3 separate regions of the Homo sapiens genome follow, and regions 2 and 3 are each linked to region 1. The links are contacts of gene promoters, found by promoter capture Hi-C in blood cells and fetal thymus (Javierre and others, 2016). All regions are on one chromosome and are shown on one strand. The core of a region is centred on a gene start or on the middle of the fragment in contact, and the rest is flanking DNA. Distances in the headings are between cores, read along the strand shown.

The links. The method cuts DNA at HindIII sites, captures the fragments that hold promoters and counts their contacts. A CHiCAGO score of 5 or more calls a contact.
Region 2: a fragment that was not itself captured here is called in contact with the fragment with the promoter of MDFI in region 1 in 2 of 17 cell types (fetal thymus and M1 macrophages); the score reaches 6.8 in fetal thymus.
Region 3: a fragment that was not itself captured here is called in contact with the fragment with the promoter of MDFI in region 1 in 1 of 17 cell types (M1 macrophages); the score reaches 6.6 in M1 macrophages.

What each region holds. Positions count from the first base shown.
Region 1 is chr6:41,636,314-41,640,862 of GRCh38, forward strand. MDFI (MyoD family inhibitor) reads left to right here and starts at 2,155. Exons shown (of 5, transcript NM_005586.4): 1 at 2,155-2,339; 2 at 2,426-2,512. The coding sequence starts at 2,437. RefSeq lists an enhancer at 4,228-4,549. The HindIII fragment of the contact is 14,281 bases long and covers 1-4,549 here.
Region 2 is chr6:41,377,282-41,381,933 of GRCh38, forward strand. It overlaps LOC100505711 (a long non-coding RNA gene), which reads right to left. Exons shown (of 3, transcript XR_108647.3): 3 at 4,111-4,652. Among named protein-coding and RNA genes, the nearest start is that of NCR2, 44 kb to the left of the region's middle. The HindIII fragment of the contact is 4,260 bases long and covers 1-3,544 here.
Region 3 is chr6:41,348,671-41,353,373 of GRCh38, forward strand. NCR2 (natural cytotoxicity triggering receptor 2) reads left to right here. Exons shown (of 5, transcript NM_004828.4): 5 at 2,008-2,219. The coding sequence ends at 2,194. Among named protein-coding and RNA genes, the nearest start is that of NCR2, 15 kb to the left of the region's middle. The HindIII fragment of the contact is 3,939 bases long and covers 824-4,703 here.

The DNA of each region.
Region 1 (4,549 bases), core at 905-3,404:
TTGGCATCCCCGAAATCTTGCACACCAGGTGAGTGTCTCACTTACCTCACCCCAGTCCTGGTCCTGGGCCCCAGTGCTCATCCCTCCTGAGGCTGAGAGGCAAAGGGATTTCCCCAAAGAAATATAGTAGATGGTGGGTCTGGAAACTGGGCTCCCATGCCAGGCCTCCAGCCTGGCCATCATATCCTATCATGCTCTGAACTGGAATGTTGATTTTAATGTGTTGATTTTTAAAAACTTTTTATTCAAGTATAATAGTCATACAAACAAGTGCCTGCATCATAAATGTTCAGCTTGCTGCATCCTTACAAAATGAGCACACCTGTATAACCAGCATGCGTGATTAAATTTAAAGCATAATTTACATTTCCAACAAAACAGACATTAGTACTGGGCCAGATTCAGAGGACTTTTGAGATCAAGCAGGCGACTTGGAATAGTAAGGCTCCGGGACTGAGCTGATGCAGAGTTTAGGGGCCCTGGATTGAGACGAGAAAGCAGGGGGAGGGGTGCAGCACTGAGGTCTGGGGTTCGGGAGGGGGCCCTATACGCGGGAGGAAACGGAGAGAGACGGTGAGGATTGCCTTCGGAGGTGGGTGAGGCCCAGCGTGCGCGCCCAGGTAAGCAGGTAAGAATGCAGCAGCCGCCAGGCCCAGGCGCGGGCGCGTCCCGTCCGGGTGACTCAGCCCGTGCCAGGAAGCGGGAGTTGGCTCAGCTCTCCAGAGCTCCCGGACAGCAGCCGGATCCCGGCCGGCTCCTGGGGCACTAGGACAGACCCCCGCGGCTAGCAGCCCGGCCTGGGGGGCGGAACACTCTCTTCTTGTCCCGCCCCACCTTCCTCCGGGCCGCAACCACCCCAGCCCATCGCTGGGACGTGGCCGCGGGTGCCGAGAGCGCTGCCGGCGCCGTGGGGGCCATCCCGGTCCTGGCCCCGACGGCGCCCCAGGACCTGCGATAGCCGTAAGTAGCGACTATGGGGGCTAGGAGAGTCCAAGAAGTGGGGAGCTGGGACGCCCGGCCTCCTGCGTCCCAGCTCTCCACTTCCAGACCCGGCTGGACTCGGGACTAGAAAAGGTGGCCTGGTGCCGCCGCTGCCTTCCAGTGTGCTCACTGGCCCTCGTGGCGGGGAGCCCAGACGCGGCTCCTAGGCGGCCCTAGACAAGTACGGCCGAGACGCTGTCACCCCAGGGGGCTGCCCCACCTGAGCATCATCCCACGGGCCCGCCCAGCCCCACCTGGAGAGCCGCAGGCTCCAAAGTCTTCCCCATTCTCGGGGACCAGGTTCCGGGGTCGCGCTGAGGGCCCCTGAACCCTCTTGGACTGCCTGGCAGCGGCTTCTTCCTACCACCACGGCTCACCATCCAGACGCGCCGCCCGGCTGGCCCCACCGGGAGAGGCTCCCTCCCTCCCCTTTCTCCCCGAACCCTCATCTTAGAAGCCCTCGGATTCAGTCTGGATCCCAAAGAAGGGCTGAATTCGGAGGACCTCTCTTTGCCCCCAAAGTCGGTTTTCTGACACACATTCCCACGCACAGCTGGTAGGGGCAGGAGGGTCGAGGATGCTCTGGGCTGCTGCGGCACAGGGCAGGCTGGTTGGTCACTAACCGGATTTCCCGGACAGACAACTCTGGCGCTGTGGGCGGGTGGCCTGGGAGCCCAGATCCCTGTCCCTGGCTTAGGACCCCGGGAGGAGACCGAGGGGGTGGGTAAAACGTGACTGAGAAACTTGATCGCGCCCATCTTTGGGGCAAAGAGATTTGGAGGCCGCAATTATTCAGACAGTTCCACGAAGTGGTTGAGGTTTCTCTCTTTCTCCTGATTTTCCAGAAACTTTTGCAGAGTTTGGACAGGCAAAGGAAAACGTGCAGCCCGCGGATCTCCGGGCCTCAGAGAGCAGGGAGTCGGGGAGACTGAGGCCCCGCTCCGAGAGCGCGGAGGAAGCGCGCCCAGCCGGCTTCCTGTGGGGGCTCGGGCCTCGGGCGCCCCGCGGACAGACGTGTCCGGCTCCTGGCTGGGCCAAGCCCGGCGCGGGGGAGGGGACCCGCAGAGGGGCGACTGAGAAGGCGAGGAGGGGGCGGGGAGAGGGTGGGCCAGGGAAGAGGGGAGGGGAGAGGCGAGTAGGGGAGGAGCGAGGGGGGCTGGAGGGAGAGAAGGAAGAAGGAAGGGGCGAACGGCGTGAGCTGGCGCCGAAATGGGAGAAAGCAGCGAGTGAGAGGGGAAGGGGCGCCAGGCGAGCACCCGGGAGCCAGCGGGACCTGGGCAGGGGCGCCCGGAGCAGGCGCGCATGGCGGGCCCCGCGCGGGGATCCGGCTGGAAGAGAGCGTAGCACGGCTCGCACGAGTGAGTGGACGTGGGAGGCGCGCATCTGCGGGGGAATCGCCCCTTGCCCGCCTCCGGCGCCGCCCGCTGAGCCCTGTTTTCCGCAGGTCCGGGGCCGATGTACCAGGTGAGCGGCCAGCGCCCCTCTGGCTGCGACGCGCCCTATGGAGCCCCCAGCGCAGCCCCGGGCCCAGGTAGGACCGGGAGTGGCGAGCGAAGCTGGACAGGGGCGGGTGGGCGGCTGAAGGGGCCAGTTATTAGTTCTCCTCTCCGTCCCCAGACGCGGGGAGACCGTTCCAGGGAGCTTGGTGGGGGTAGGGACGAAAAGTCTGGGTTTGAGGACTTGGTCCAAGGAGAGTAGGGGGCTGGGCGAGGGAGGCAGGGCCCTGAACAGAGGCTGCGGCTGCGCCAAGTTGGCTCCAACTCCCCGCAACTCCCGACACCAGACACACACACACACACACACAAACACACACACATACACTCCGCGGTGTCTGTCCGTCTGGGATTTGTGTCTCAACTGTTTCTGCCCAGTGTGTAAATATTTGTGGGGGCCTGGTGTGGGGGAGGGGGCGTTGTCTGAATCTTTCTCTACTTCCCTTCCCCCAGCCCAACCAGAGCCCAGCGCTTCCCGAAAACTTTTGTCTGCCGCGAGCGGCTGCAGGACCCAGCCCCTCCCCTCTTTCTTGCCATCCCTTCTCCCTCGCCTTCCTTCCCTCTCGTGCCGGCCAGTCCCCGCCGCCCCTGCCCTGTGCACACACACGCACCCCAACCCAGTGTCTTCAGCCCAAGTGAAATGCCCCGTCCCGCGCCTGGCGCCGTCTGTAACCTACCCGCGATTCCTGGGGGAGCCTCTCACGCCAAGTACGGTTTGTGACTCCCTGAAGGGGTTTGGAGTAGGGGCCTCGCCGGCCCTGGTTCTCAGTCCCTTCCCCTCACTGGCCAGATGCCTAAGCCGAAGCTCCCAAATGGAAGTCCGGGTCAAGGAGAAGTCAGGAACCTCTGGGATGTGTTCAGGGCCAGGGGAACCGCGTGCAGGAGTGTGGACCCGGATTTCATAATTGGAATCTCCACTGTCTAAGTCGTTGCCTTCCTCCCCACCAGCGCCATTCCCCCTTTCCCCTCTTTGACTCTGAATAATGAAGGTCTGTTCCTGAACCTCTGACACGAACTCCCTGCCTTGCCTTGGACAAGCTCCTTCCCTTCTCTGGCCTGAGCCTCCACATGCGCCCTCGAAGCCGGCCTGCCTGCCTGTTCTAGGAGGCCCCTCTCCACTCCCCACCTACTTGGTATGGACGCCTAGTTGTGGAGGTGGGGGGTCCTCTAAACCAGAGTGAGGACAAGTGGAAGATGTCTGGCCAACAGCCAGCACATAGATGAGGCCAGTGTGTCTACAGCCCATCTTGGCCAAGCCTCAAATTGCCTGCTGTCTCTGTGGGGCCCCTGCAACGGGGCCTTCTGCAGGATGAGCGCCTCCAAGAATTGGACTCCTTCAGCCCGGAGGGACAGCTGGGGGCAGGGCACTTGGAAGGGTCCTTCTCTGTGTCTGGGAACCTTCCCTGTCCCGCTGGGCCTCCTTCCTGCCTCCTCCCTTCCTCAGCCTCCTGCTCTCCCATCCTCTTACTCTCTCCAGCTTTCTCCCTCCCCTTATCCATTTTCTCTGCTCTCCCTCCACTACCTCCTTCCAAGATCCCCTTCCTTGTTGAAGCCATTCTCAGCTCCAGCAGCAAGAGGAGAGGGCTAACTGCACACAACCGGGGCCAGCGTGGGCAACTGGGAGGGTTAAGCTCTGGGCTGTAACTTGAGGCCCCCCAGCACCCCAGCAGACCCCCTCCCCAGCCTGGGCTGGGCCAGACAATGCGGCTTTCATAACTCAAGGCTTCGCTCTGCCACCGCCTTGGGAGAATGAGCCTGCTGCCCAGGAAGCCCAAACCGCAGGAGACCCAGCCAAAACCCCACAGATGCCTGAATTTGAGACCAGAATCCCCCACGCTTTACTCCCTGAGTGCTGACAGAACAGCAAGGCCACAGCGCTGCCCCAGGGGCTCTGCTGGCAGGACAGCCAGGGAGCAAGTCGGCCTCCTCCCTCAGCCACCCCAGATGCAGACAGGGCACAAGGGGACTCAGGGCAGATCTGGTAGGGGCAGGTGGCCAAGCCCCCACACCCTTGGCTCTCCTAGTGGCCTCCTCCCCACCCACCCCTGAGAGCCCCGGGAGCCTGGCTCCCTAGC
Region 2 (4,652 bases), core at 165-2,664, 260 kb before region 1:
CTGAGATGGGAGGATCACTTGAGCCCAGGAGGTCGAGGCTGCAGTGAACTGTCATGGCACCCACTGCATTCCAGCCTGAGCAACAGAGTGAGACCTTGTCTTTAAGAAAAAGAAAGAAAGAAGAGAAAAGAAGAAGGAAAAGAAAAAGAAATCAGACCCGAAAGTACATTCTCTGTGGTTCCATTTATTTAAAGTACAAAAACAGGCAAAATAAATCTATGTATGCTATTAGAAAGCAGAATCATGGTTACTTAGAGAAGGCATGGCTAAAAGGGATTATGAAGGAGGTTTCTGGGCCAATGGTGGTCTTCTGATTCTTGATGTAGTTACACAAGTGTGTTCAGATTATGCAAATTCATTGAGATGGGTACCTATATTAAGTGCATTTTGTGAATTTATAATTATTAAAGCCTGAAATTGGAAATTTCTTCTCCCTAGTCCTCAATCTCATTCATACGCTCACATATTCTAATGCTGCAAACTCTACAGTAGCAGGAAATCAATCAATGAATCATGTTTGGCCCTCTTCCCCTGTGTTCAACACTGTAAAGTATCTGTGAATATATTTTAGCCCCTGCCTTCAAAGATTTGCAATCAAGTTTGGGAGGCAGATAGACACCCAGGAAATCACGGAGGAGATATCTAATGGAATAGAATGAGTAGTGGTTTATGCCTCTGTCAGGTGAACCTGACAGCTGGGGCCAAATCCCAGCTCCACCACTTACTATCTATGTAATCTTGGACAAGTGACTTCACATCTCTGAGCCTCAGTATCCTTATCTGGAGTATGGAGAGGAAAATGCTAATATTTACTCACGGGGATGTTGTGAGGATTACACCAGATAAATATATTTCTCTATAACAGCAACAAAAAATGGAAAATGAAATTGTTCCTTTTAAATGCTGTATTAGTTCATTTGGGTTGCTGTAACAAAATACCATAGACTGGATGGCTTGTAGGCAGCAGAAATTTATTTCTTACAGTTCTAGAGCCTGGAAAGTCCAGCATCAAGACACCAGAAGATTTGGTGTCTGGTGAGGACCCACTTTCTCACAGACGGAACCTTCTCATGAGAGTAGTGCCCATAAATGTTAGCCACTATTTCCACCTGGTATGGTGGTAAGTCTGGTTTGGGCTGCTCAGAGTTCAGACAAGAGGATGGTGAGTATGAGTTGGGGTGAGTGTGTATCCTATAATGCACAGAGCAGCTTCCACAACAAAGAAATTTTCCAGCCCAAAATGCCAGTGATGCCAAGGTTAAGAACCCTTGATGTGGAGGACAGAAGGGATTCGGTGGCAAAGGGAGAACATTCCCCAGGAGGGGAGAAAGATGTGCTCTGGAATTTCTGATGTGAACTGAGGGTAGGTAGCATTGGAAGTGACCAGAGGAGTCCCTGTTCTAGTCTTCATCCCTCAGGCTGCAAGCTCCTCATTCACCTCCCTGATTTCAGAATTTGTGGGGGGTGGTTTATTTCCTGTTCTCAAGAGATACTTGGAAAAAGCAAGGCAGATTCTCAGGAGATTTACAAGGCCACAGCATCGCGTGTGCCTTGGAACCACAATTGGAGGAAACCCCTAAGTTGGAGGCATCTGACCCTCTCCCAGAGGCTCAGAAGGGGAAGGGACTTGTCTACTGTCATGCAGTGCAGCTGGGAGTGCTGAGACTCTACCCTTGAGCTCTGTTCTTGGTGTACAGAAAGTTAGGGGAGAAGGGATTGCAAATCTGGATTAAATGATCTAGAAGCGGAAAATATGACACATGTTAATAGTCAAAAAGGAAAGTCAGCACCGAACTTTGGAAGTGTTCAATAGAACAATGTGATTGTCTAGGGGTAAGTATAATTCTTGGTTCTAAAATCATGCCTAATAGACATAGCATTCCAGAAAAAAGGAAATTTACATTGGTTAATCACATTTTTTTCCAGAAGCAAATTCTATTTGTCAGGCACTGTTCTAAATACTAGGGATACAGTAATGAACAACAGAGGCAAAGCGAACCCTCATGGGGCATATATACTGGGGGAGAAGGATGATAAATAAAACAATGTAATGCCAGGCATTTAACTGAGCACCTACTATGGGTTGGGTGTCCCTTATAAATGTCCTCAGTTTCACAAGAACTTTTAAGATAGAAATCTGCAGTTTAAGATGGAGAAACTGAAGTTCAGAGAAGGCAAGTGACTTCCCTAAAGTAGAATGACTAATAAGTGTCAGATTCAGGATTTGAACTTAGTAGGCCATTCATGATAAACATAGTACACTTAGAGGGAACTTCCTCAATCTGATAAAGACTATCTACAAACTCCTACAGCAATAATTATGCTTAATGATGAAATAGTGAAAGTTTCCTCCTTTCTATCAGGAGAAGATACAATATCCAGTATCAACACTTCTATTTAACATTGTATTAGATATCCTAGCCCGGACAATAAGACAAGAAAATGAAATAAAAGATTTAAGGATTGGTAGAGGGAAAGGAGAAATATTATTCATAGATGATATGATTATATAAATAGAAAATTCAAAATAATCTGCAAACTACTGGAATTAATGGTGAATTTAGCCAAGTCACTAAATAATAAGATTTTTGTTGTTGTTATTGTTGTTTTTGTTTGTTTGCTTTTTTTTTTGAGACAGAGTCTTGCTCTGTTGCCCAGGCTGGAGTGCAATGGCGTGATCTCAGCTCATTTCAACCTCCGCCTCCTGGGTTCAAGCAATTCTCCCACCTCAGTCTCCTGAGTAGCTGGGATTACATGCATCCATCATCATGCCTGGCTAATTTTTGTATTTTTGTAGAGATGGGGTTTCACCTTGTTGGCCAGGCTGGCCTTGAACTCCTGACCTCAGATGATCTGCCCACCTCGGCCTCCCAAAGTGCTGGGATTGCAGACATGAGCCACTGTGCCCAGCCTAAATACAAGTTTTTTTAATACAAGATTGATGCATTAAGATAAATTATATTTATCTATAACAGCAACAAAAATTAGAAAATGAAATTATTCTTTTTAAATGCTGTCTTAGTTCATTTGGGCTGCTGTAACAAAATACCATAGACTGGGTGGCTTATAGGCAGCAGGAATTTATTTCTCATAGTTCTGGAGGCTGGGAAGTCCAGCATGAAGGCAGCAGCAGATTTGGTGTCTGGTGAGGGCCCACTTTCTCCAGGTGGAGACTTCTCACTGTGTCCTCACTTGCTAGAAGAGGTAAAGTAACTCTCTGGGCCTTTTTTATAAGGGCACTAATCCCATTCACAAGAACTCTGCTATCATGACCTAATCGCCTCCTAAAAGGCCCCACCTCCTAATGCCATCACCTTGAGGGTTAGGATTTCAACATATGAATTTAGAGGGGAGACGTATTCAGACTGTAACAGATGCAATAGGTGGGTAATAGCTAAAGGGCATGAGGTTACTTTTTAAGGTGATGAAAATGTTTTAAAATTGACAGTGGTGATGGTTACACATACCTACAAATATTCTAAAAACCATTGAAGTGTATACTTTAAATGGGTGAATTGTATGGAATATGAATTATATCTCCATAAGCTTGGATTTCTTTAAAGATGAAGGGCAGGTATTGCTGGGGTTCTCCTTCCTACACTACCAATCACTAGTGCTTATGAAAATCCCTTCTAAAAATACAATTTACAATAGCAGCAAAGCCCATCAAATGCCTAGGAATAAATCAAATGAAAAATGTGCAAGACCTCTACACTGAACTACAAAGCATTATTGAGGGAACTTAAAGACCTAAATAAATGTAGGGTTATACCATGTTCACAAATGGGAAGGCTCATATTATAATGATGTCAGTTCTCAAAACGAATGCATAGATTCAATACAATTCCAATCAAAATCCCAGCAGGTTTGTTTTTGGAAATTGAATTCAAGTGGATCTGGCTCTATGGCTCACTGGAACATGGACATTATAGAAAAAGATCCAAGGGTCATAGTGTCCCCTATGTACAGGGTTTATAGGCAGCTATAGTTGAAAGACCATCAAGACCACGGGACCCTGAAAAACTCATTTGGGAGTAGAATGAGGAGATAAAAAATATTCTCAGTTAAAACAGACTCTTACCATGCTTTCAGTAGACACAAGAGAAAGACCATAATTGACTAAATATATTTTCACTTAAATAAGAGTGGTAGAAAGGACTTGTCACCTTTCATAAGTGATATCATTAGGGATATGGCTACCCAGCTGGGGATATGGCTCCCTTCATTGTGGATATAGGTGTGCAGGATTCCTCTGGCAAGGACTTGGAGAGGGGTCAATAAATCTCTTAGGCCACATGCTCATGGGTACCAGTTTGTGCATGAGATTGCAGGAGGCCCTTGACCTGTCCCAAGGCAGCAGCTAGGACTTGGCCTCAGCCTTGGCTTTTGAGAAGCTGTGGGAGAGTTGAGGCTTGAAGTCAGTCATCGGAGGAGATGGCTGCTTCCTCCCTGACGACAAGCTGAGGAGCACCCAAGAGGCTGGGCAGGAGGTTGTAGGGGGCAGGGGATCAGGGGATGCAGCACTGCCTTTGTCCTCAGGCTGCACCCACAGAGGCAGGGCTCCAGCACATGAAGAAACAGAGCTTGTTTCCCAGTGAGGGAGAGGGCAGAGACCCCAGGATTCCCTCAGTCTCCCATCTCAATCCCTTGAG
Region 3 (4,703 bases), core at 1,543-4,042, 290 kb before region 1:
GGCTGCTTCCTGCCAGTTTAATTTGGGGGATACAAAGTGAGATCCCAGATTTTATGCTATTTCTGTTCCTTTCAGTCCAATCTGGCAGTGTTTTGTGACTGTCATTCTCTTAAAAAAAATGTGGATCTCCTGTAAAACTTATTGTGACTCACTCCATTAGACAAAGACCATACCCACAAATTTCTCCAAGAGAAGATCTCTTCCACACCATGTGCTTCTGACAAGAAAGTGAGGATAATGTCTTTATACTTCTTAGAAGATCTAATGTTCGACTGAAAAATCTATGAAGCACGCACCCTTAAATTCATGAAAGGGCCTTTTGCCTGAGACACTATGTGAAATAATAATTATTATACATTATTGAAATCATTATAATTTTATATAAATTATTATAGTTTATTATATTTTTAATATATTTTATAAATTTTTTATATTTTTATTTTTTATATTTTATTTATATATTTTATATTAATTTTTATTAATAATTTTAAATAAATTATAATTTTATATATTATGCATATATTATCATGTATATAATTTTCATATATATATATATTTCTTTGACCCTAGTTCCTGACACAGAGCTCCTGAGACCCTTATAAATGGGAGTGCTAAGATAATCTTTTGTTCTCATATTTGGTCTTTGACCTCTGCTCCTGACACAGAGCTCCTAAGACCTTTCTAATCTCCTGAGTGATAGGAGTGTCTAACACAGAGGTCCTACCTCCCTTGGAATTTCCTGGCATCTTTTCCTCTAAAGAGGTGACTCTTAGTGTGCTCTTGGATGGGGGCTGGTCACCAGAAGGATCAATCCATGATTGAAAGCTTGGAACTTTCACCCCACCTCCCATACCCCAGGGAGGGGAGGGGGCTGAAGACTGCATTAATCATCAATCAAGCTGACATGATGAAGTCTCTGTAAAAATCACAAAAGTAAGGTTCAGGAGCTTCTGAGTTGGTGAACACATTCATGTGCTGGGAGGTATGGTGCACCCCAGCTCCACAGAGACCAGAAGCTCCTGCCCTCCAGCCCTTCCATACCTGAAAACAATTTGGTTTTTCCTACTAAACACACAACTTTCTGAGGTCTTAACAAAGGATTTTACAGCATAGCCTTGGTTTCATCTTTAGACCACATATTCCTGAACGTGCCCTGGATTTGATTTTAGCATCATTTACTGTCTGGAGGCTGAGAATTTTTTAAGTCATCAAGTCCCAGCTCCCTCATGTTGAATAATCCTGCCTAGAGTTTACCTCTCACCTCTCTCATTTCACAATGAGCCACAAGAAGAAACCAGGTAGCACTTTCAAGAGTTTGCCTGGAAATCCTAGCTGTACAACCCAGCTCATGAGGGACATTTTCTACTTTCCACATTACTGCAGATGACAGTGTTGCTAAACTTTCTGCCATTGTGTAACAAAGAACCCCCTTCCTTTTTACCAACTAAATGATGCTGGAAAAGTTTCTTAAGGTCTCTACCCCGAGTCTTCTTATTGGTAAAAACAGAACTGATAACACACATATTACCAAGCTATTTGGATTTCTAAGTAGGGTGATGTATTCAAAAAGCACCAGACAAAAGGAGAACACCCAACAAAGGCTGAGTTTTAGAGGGAGTGAGGTGTAGAAGAAAGCAGACTCAACTGTGACACAGCAGAGACCATCTGCCTTTCCAGAGCTTACTGCAGCTGAAAAGACAGATAATAGTGTGTGGGCAGAGGGTGAACCTGGAGACTTGAAGGAAACAGGCCCCTCTTCTTGGTGGACAGTAGAGGAAAATAAAGGAAAAAATCAGGGTGAGGAAACTGACCAAACTGGGCTCAAAATCCATGCATGCTCACTGACACTTTTCTGGCAGCAGTGGCCAGGAGCAGACTTCATCCTTGTGAGGTGGGTATGGCAACCAACCCTGCGAGTAGTGGGATGGGGAAGGGGTTGCCTCTGCACCTATGTGCAATTATGTGGCAGTCTCTGACCACCTTCCTGGTTTCCTGCTCTGATTGCAGGGGGGACATATGGTGGAAAACCATGATGGAGCTCAGGAGCCTGGATACCCAAAAAGCCACCTGCCACCTTCAACAGGTCACGGACCTTCCCTGGACCTCAGTTTCCTCACCTGTAGAGAGAGAAATATTATATCACACTGTTGCAAGGACTAAGATAAGCGATGATGATGATGAACACACTTTGTGAATAATAAAATTATCTGAATGTTTTATTCCTGTTGTTTCCTAAGTTTCCTTCAAACTCTGTCTGCATCCGCACATTTGATCTCTAGGGGACCAGCTTCTCTAGTTTGCCCTCTTTCCTCCATCATAACCCTTTCTTATCTTCAGTTCACCTGATGTCCCCTGTACGTCTGGGAGCTGCCTTAGATGCTGTTATAATCAGGGAAGGGCACTGTACACAAGCCCAGTGAGTAGAAAGGCTGTGGGCGAGCAAGGCTTGGAAACAAGACCTGGGTTTGTTTTCTCAGCTCAGCCCTGTATGAACTCGGACAGATAGGTCACTGCCCCTCTCTGAACGTCCGTTTCTTTCTCTAGAAAATGAAGGGGGTGGAGATGAGTTCTGAAACCCCTTCCCCATGAGGATAAGTCAATAAGCATGAACTCAACACCTGCCTGTGCCCAGCTCAGGGACCAAGCACCACAGGACACAAACAAAAGGAGCCAGCCTGGGAACACAGTTGTGAGTCCATAGGTGGCGGGGCCCCTGTGCAAGATTCCAGCACAGGCTGAGGGAAGGGGACAGTGGAGGGGGAGCAAAGCTGAAAATATGTGGCTGGAGAGGGATAGAAAAGCAGGACACTAGTGGGTACCAGACAGTGGGGGAAGGAGCCCAACAAGGATGAGGAACTTTGCTGTGAAGTCATGTTAGTCAGGATGCCATGACCTTCCATGAGCCCGAAAGAGGGCACACAGTCCCAGGAAGGAGGCGAAACCCTGCCCCATCTCTACTCACCCCTAAGGTTCTGGGAGCTTCCTGGTATCCAGGGAAAATTTAGGCTCCCAGGGTCTGCGGTCTTTTTCTTGGAAACCCCAGTCTCCGGCTTCCTGTTTCCAGTTTCGCCTTCCTTCCTGGGCTCCTCTGGGTACCAGGCTCCATACCCTGCCAAAGGCTAGAAAGTCTGCGGACAGCCGGCCGGGCGTGGTGGCTCATGCCTGTAATCCCAGCACTTTGGGAGGCCGAGGCAGGCAGATCACCTGAGGTTGGGCGTTCGAGACCAGCCTGACCAACATGGAGAAACCCTGTCTCTACTAAAAATGCAAAATTAGCCGGGCGTGGTGGCACATGCCTGTAATCCCAGCTACTAGGGAGGCTGAGGCAGCAGAATTGCTTGAACCTGGGAGGTGGAGGTTGCAGTGAGCCGAGATCGCGCCATTGCACTCCAGCCTGGGAAACAAGAGAGAAACTCTGTCTCAAAAAAAGAAAAAAGAAAGTCTGGCGACAGCCAAGGTTTCAGACAGACCAGAGTTTCTGCTTATGGTTGAAGTGCTGAACTTGTTGGGTCTAAATGTGAATATGCACTGAGTAGTAGAGTCTATTAAGAAACTATTTTTAATTGCATTGGCTGTGATCATATTAATTTGCTAAGCAGCAAGAGCTCTTGTTTTAGAAATGTATGATAAATTATTTAAGGGTGGAATGTCAGGATATCTGCAATTTATTTAAAAATACTTCCACATAAAAAAAAATACCGTGAGTTAAAAATACAGAAGTGGAGTGGAGCACCTGGCCCCTGAGCTCTGATGATGACAGGGCCTGCTATAGGCCCATCCTGTTCCTCCATGGAAATTAGACAAATGACCCATCTTGCAGAGAGATCACAAAAAGGCACACACACCCCCACCCCCAGCCCCGGGCCTACTGATTACAAAAATGCACCCTAGCCAATACCTGGTAGAATTCCAACCCTGCTGGCCCAAACACCCAGGGACTTCCTGTGGTTATGGGATAACAGCCAACACAGCCACCATCGAAGCAGAGTCCACAGTCTCAGCGAGGTGCTCAAATCTTGGTGCAGCCCTGAACTTGACATTGGTCAGCAGATCTCCACAACAGCTGCACCTAGAGTTGCACACACCACACCAGCTTTCCTGGTGTTTTTCTCTTTTCTTTGTACATTATATGTAAACATCATTTTTCCAATTCTAAGAATCCCGACATTCAATAAAGGGAAATATGTTAGATTCTTGTATCTACTATTTTTTCCCCAACCAACCTTTCTCAAGCATTAGTAGGTAAGAGAGCAGGAGCAAGTGGTCCAGCCATGCTTCCAGGGCTGAGGCTTTCCTCTCTCCTCCTCCTGACTCCCCTCCTCCTGAACAAATCCTATTCCCTCCCAGCACCCTCTCTGAGGATTCCTCGGTCACCACCCCAAGAGCTCAAGGAGAAGCGGCTTGGTTGGGAGGACCCTCTCCTCTGCCTCTTGCTGCTAATGGCACCTGCACCTAGTTTGCAGGTGCCCTCAGCTTCAGATGGGGGACTGGGGAGGAGGACAAGAAAGAAGGCTGGAGAGGGAAGTGGGGCAGGAAGAAGTGACCTTGCAGCCAGAGGACCAGCAGGAGGCTGATCCCAGGGGTGGGTATACATGTGGCCGCTTCCCCTTCCCCAGCCCTCCAGGGCTCCCAGATCTGATGCTCCTGAGGAGAAAAATCTGAGCCTGAGGAACTGAGGGAAGGGAACAGGAAGGGCCTCTGTG